Linked DNA regions of Homo sapiens: region 1 is linked to region 2. The links are contacts of gene promoters, found by promoter capture Hi-C in blood cells and fetal thymus (Javierre and others, 2016). All regions are on one chromosome and are shown on one strand. Each heading gives the region's core, a stretch centred on a gene start or on the middle of the fragment in contact. The rest is flanking DNA. Distances are from core to core; before and after follow the strand shown.

What was found. Contacts are between HindIII fragments. The CHiCAGO score rates a contact against its expected background, and 5 or more counts as called.
Region 1: a contact is called between a fragment that was not itself captured here and the fragment with the promoter of ALS2CL in region 2, in 1 of 17 cell types (M1 macrophages). The highest score is 5.7, in M1 macrophages.

Annotation. Positions count from the first base shown.
Region 1 is chr3:46,474,694-46,477,599 of GRCh38, reverse strand. It overlaps a transcript of LTF not described here. Among named protein-coding and RNA genes, the nearest start is that of LTF, 11 kb to the right of the region's middle. The HindIII fragment of the contact is 172 bases long and covers 1,335-1,506 here.
Region 2 is chr3:46,692,343-46,695,119 of GRCh38, reverse strand. It overlaps ALS2CL (ALS2 C-terminal like), which reads left to right and starts at 1,441. Exons shown (of 26, transcript NM_147129.5): 1 at 1,441-1,477. It also overlaps a transcript of TMIE not described here. RefSeq lists enhancers at 1-504, 2,086-2,777 and silencers at 1,137-1,216, 1,367-1,616, 1,347-1,641. The HindIII fragment of the contact is 12,869 bases long and covers 1-2,777 here.

The DNA.
Region 1 (2,906 bases), core at 171-2,670, 220 kb after region 2:
AGATGCTTTTAGTATTCCTATTTTCACATGGGGACACTGAAGCTGAGACAGGCTGAATGACGTGGCTAGATCTGGGGAGTGGGGAAGAGGTAGAGCTGGTTTCAAACTCCCCTGCCTGCGATGTTTAACCACTCTCATCACTGACCCTGCCTTTCAGGCACCAGACTACCCAGTGAATCAAAGGGACAAGGGAGTCGCCTAGAATGCAGGTGTGGCCTTGGGATGTGCTCAGAAGGGCCAGGCTTCATCTGGGCTTAGAAGAGCTGAGGGAGGAGGAGCCCTGGGCTCCCTCACAGAGGCAAGTGGAGGGAAATGGTGACTCTGAAGAATATTGAAAGAACTATCCGCCAATGAGAAAAAGCCTTACCAAATAATCAAACAATGGACAAAAGACATTCCCAAACAGAGTGGCTGAAATGAAAAAGACAGACAATGGCAGTGTTGGCAAGGATGTGAAGCCCCTAGAACTCTCATATACATTGGTGGGAATATGAATTGCTACAATTAACTTTGGAAAACTAGCAGAATTTTCTAAAGCAGAACGTAGTCATATGCTGTAAAACTCCATTCCTAAGTACATGACCAACAGAAAAGAATACATATGTTCGCTTCAGCACCATTGTAATAACCCCAAGTTAGAAACGACCAAAATATCTATTACCAATAGAATAGACAGGTAACTTTGGTACACTCACATACATAAAGATTATACAGAAGTGAGCATGTAAGAGCTATTTCTTTATGGAACAACATTGGAGAATCTAATAAACAAAATTTTAAACAGAAAACCTCAGGCACCTTCTATACAATTCCATTTATAAAAACTTCACACACAGTCATAATGAATACATTGTGTTAGATGTCAGGATAGTGATCACCTCTGGGGTAGTGATTGGAAAGAGGCATGTATAGAGTTTTTGTGGGCGGGTAATCTTCTCTTACTTTATTTGAGAGCTGTTTTTTAGCGAGGTGTTCAAATTTTAAAAATTCATCAAACTCTACATGTATGATTTGTGCATCTGCTGTTATATATGCATATGTATGCTACACTTTAATAAAAAGTGTGTTTTTAAAAGACAAATATTGTCATTTACAGACTGCAAGAGAAATGTAAGTTTGGCTTGGTATTTGAAAATAAATTGGTATGATTCATAACCAAAGAGAAAAATCAAATGATTATCTCAGTTGATGCTGAAATTCAACATCCATTCATGTTTATAACTAACTATCTAAAGGGACTTCCTTAATCTACAAAAGTTTCTATAGAATCTACATATCTACAAAAAAGCCAACAGCAAATAGATATCATATTAATGGGGACAATGTTGAAAGCTTGCCTTCTGAGATCAGGAACAAGACCCGGATGCTGTTATCTCCATATCTGTTCAACATTGTACGGAAAGTCCCATCTAGTGCAAAATCACTGGAAAGAAAGGATAAAGCTCTCATTATTATGTTAGTGGAAACTCCCAAGTAATTAGATTTTATAAGTGAATTTAATAAGCTTGTCAAACAGAAGGATAAATACAAAAATAGATTGTATTTCTAATACTAGCAATTATTACCAAATGAAATAAAAATTAGAAAATGAATTAAAGGATGATCTCACAAGCAGAATGTTGAATGAAGGAAATCAAATACAAAAGAATACATATTATATGATTCCATTTATATAAAATTCAGAAGTAGGCAGATCTAAGGTGTAGTGTAGAAATTATAGTAGTAGCTAGCTTTAGGGGTTGGGAGATGGTGTGGGGTTGAGCAGAGGCATAAGCGGTTTTTGAATGTTAGCAGTTTTCTTTGACCTGGGTGGTGGTTACATGAGTGTTCTTTGGGATAATTTGCTCAATTGTACATTTATGTTTTATATTTCTCCATATGAGAGTTTTTTTTAACTTAAAAAAGATTACTTGGCCAGCTTGAGTTGGGTGGTCTCTAATGGTCAATTGGCTGCAGCTGGATCAAAGGAGCCACATGGTTCCCATGGTAATGCCTTGCAGGGCCATAGAGTTGGAGAGTAGATGAAGAGAGGGTGTGTGTGTGTGTGTGTGTGTGTGTGTGTGTGTGTGTGTGTGTGTGTGTGTTTAGGGGGAGAGCAGATGAAAGTGACTGACATCTCATAGGGAGTTTCTCCCAAGAATAACAGAGATGACCCTCTCCTTTTTCTCTCTTGCTAACAAACGGGCCTCATGGAATGTATTGGAGAGTATTTCCTCTTTTCGGTTTTGGAAGAGGTTGTGTGGAATTGGTGATAATTATTTAAATGTTTAGTAGAACTCGACAGTGAAACCATTTGAGTCTGAAGATTTCTTTTTTGAGAGTTTTAAAATCATGAGCTCTGTTTCTTAATTCAGATGATCTGTTTCATATTGTGAGTTGCAATAGTTTGTTTTTTTGGAGAAATTGGTCAATTTCATATCAGTTGTCAAATGTATGTGTGTAGAGATCTTTTAGTAGTCCTTGAGTTATCCTTCCATTGTCTTTAGGATCTGTTGTGATAGCTTCTGTTTTCTTTCTTTTGCTTGCTTTAGGTTTATTTTACTCTCCCTTTTCTGGTTCCTTGAGGTGGCAGTTTAGATTACTGATATGAGGCTTTTCCTCCTCTAATGTAATCATTTGGTGCTACAAATTTCCCTCTGAGTACAGCTTTAGCAGCATCCCACACATTTTGATATGCTGTATTTTCATTCTCATTAAGTTCAGTGTATTTGAAAAAAGTTTTACTTGAGGTTTCCTCTTTGACCCACTGATGATTTAGAAGTGTGATATTTAGTTTCTAACTGTTTGGAGATTTCTCTGCTATCTTTTTGCTAGTGATTTCTAGTTTGATTTTATTGTGATCAAAGAATAAATTTTTATGATTTCAATTTTTAAAAAATTGTTGAGGTTTGTTTTATGTCCCAGGA
Region 2 (2,777 bases), core at 192-2,691:
GCTGTGAAGGGGAGTGGGGGCCAAGGTCCGGAGCCTGGGGGTGGAGGGCATGGGGAGGGGAGGCTTTCCCAGAGGGCCAGAGGGACACCTCACCAGAAGCCTCCTTGAGGTAGCCCCCACCCACCAACACAGCAACACCTCTAGCAGGCAGGGACCAGAGGAGCAAGGCCTTTGGGAGTGGAGCCCCTCAGGCAGCAGGGGGTGCAGAAGGGGGCAAGAAAACAAGGCTGGAAAAGGGGAGGCCAGAGCTAGGGCGGGCTTTGGCAATGTGGGGAGGGATGGAGAAGCAGGAAGGGGCGGCTCTGCAGGATTGGGACCCAGGAGGAGAGCAATGTGGGGCAAAAGGGTGAGGTCACTGGGACCTGCAGTCACTCAGACAAGGGTCCCAGGCTGGAAACCCTCCAAGGGGTGATGTGCAGCTTGGCAGACAGTAAACTCCCACCTCGCAACAACCCAAGGGAGCCAGGGGATGAGCTTGGCAGGCCCCAGGCCCCTACTTACCTCCACTGGGGGTCTCTTCAGCCTGGCAGGTTGGGGGATGCCTCCCACCTCCTCAGTAGGGGGCTGAGTAGGGGGCTGGTGGGCCACCCTTTCTGCTCTTCCACGGCCGCCTTGGACCCTGAGCCTCCCCCTCACTGGAACCTGAGTGCCACTGAGAGCAATGGGTGACTAACCTGGTGGCCAGAGGGGGAATCAGGCTGCTGACGGGGGGCTTCTTTGTTACAGGTTTGAACTAAGTTCCCTCCCGCTCCCGGGGGGTCTGTCCCAGATAAGTCTTCAGCCACCCTTTCCAAGGTCTCAGGCCTTCGCACAAAGCACACGCGGCCGGCTTCATGCTCTACTAGGCCTGTTGAGACTCAGGAGTGGGGAGGAAAGGGGACTTCCCCAAGGTCGCACAGGAGGGGCGGCCGGCCGTGGACACCCAGCCCAGGGGGCCGCAGGGCGCCTCAGTATACCCCTCTACAGGCTCCAAGTTCCACGAACCCACACAGCGCTCCGCGTGTGCTGGCTTCTGTGACTCAGGGCAGACCCGGGAGGTCACGGGGCTGCACCACAGGCTCGCAGAGCGACTGACTGGCGGGGCGAGGTGGTGGCACGGCGGCCTCGGAGCCTTGCAGGGGAAGCGGGGCGCGAGAGGCGAGCCTGAGTGTGCGCGTGGGTGCGTAGGGGGCGGAGGGGTCAAGACTCCCACTTTTCCTCCCCGCGCCGGGTCCCAGGGGCCTCCGGATCCCGGGGGACGCCAGAGGGAGGCCTCAGGAGAGGCTTGGGGCGGCGGGACGGATCAATACCGCGCGCCAGCTCCTCGGTGGCCCGCCCGTGGCCCCCGCAACTCCAGAGCAACACCCGGAGGCGGGGCGGGGCGGGGCTGGGCGAAGGGGGCGGGGCTGGCAGGGGGCGGGACTGGCAGGGGGCAGGGTGGGGGTGCGAGCGAGGAGCCGCACAGGCAGTCCCGGCGCGGGGCAACCACAGCGCTCAGGTAAGGGCGCGACGAAGGGCGCGCGTCTGCGGACGGGTGTCTGCGCTCCACGCTTAGCTCGTCCAGGTGGGGGCTCCCGCCTCCTCGGCTGCTGCGGTCCCCGCCCAGCTCCTTGGTCCCGGCGGCAGTCATCCCCCGGCCGTCCGAGTCCCTCGTAAGATACCCCGCTCACAGCGTCGTCCTCCCTGCCTGGCTGCTAGCCTGCTTGGGTTCGGGGCAGCGCCCCGGGCCTGACCTGAGCCGTGGTGGCAGGGCCACGGGGCCCCAGCCAGCAGGAGAGACTGCCAGGAGGAGGTGACGCCGGCTGGTTAGGGCGGAAGGGCCCGACCCGGGATTCCAGGAGGTGGCCTTTTCGCATGGGAGCGGCATGGCAAATGCCTGGCGGCCGGAACAGGAGCTCGGGTCTGGGAAACTCCAGCGACTGAGTGTGTGCCTGGGCAGGGAGAGGAAGGGAAGCTGGGACATATGCGACAGCAGGGAGGGGTGCTTGTCTAGGACAAGAGGCTTGTAGCCATGGTGGGGCCGAGGAAGGGTGCAGCGGGGAGAGGCGAGCATGAGACTGAGGGATCAGGTGTGACAGTTCAGCGCCCCCTCCCTGGGGCAGTGCGTGTCTCTACTCTCCCCCACTGGGCACCAGACAACGAAGGGGCTGCCACGGCAGCCCATGAAAAAGCCTCCACAGCAGGCAGAACTTCCCTGCCTGTTCAGACCAGGAAATACCAGAGTGAGTGAGTGTCACGACAAGGTGTGTCAGGGGCCTAAGGAGCCAGGCCTGGGAGAGGACAGGGAAGGCCCCAGTGACCCTGCCCGGGAGGGACCTAGCGTGGACAGAGGCCAGGAATGCAGAGGAGAGACCAGGTCTGGCTACTGGTTAGAGCGCCACAGGGGCAGCCGCTGACTCACCTGGGCACGCCGTGACTGGCCAGTTCTGTCCTCACCCTGCCCCACCCCACCGCACCCCGTGGTGAGCATCAGGGCTGCCTGAGGACAGCTGTGAGGCAGGGCCCGTCAGGATCTTGCTCTGTGCCTCAGGTGAGTTGCCCACCCTCTCTGAGCCATCTAGCTAGGTGAACCTGGTGGGCTGGAGCCAGAAGTCTGGGTCTGAGCCCTGCACAAGTTCTACACAAGGGTCTCTGGACCCTCCCATTGTTCCTGGGCCTCAGTTTCCCCATCTGTACATTAGGCACAGCCTGTCACTAAGGAACCTTTGAACTGGAGGGAGGGAGAGGGTGAGGAAGCTATGCCCTTGACTGGAAGGGGGAAGGTTAGGGATGGGACAGGGGTTGGGGAGGGGGGTACT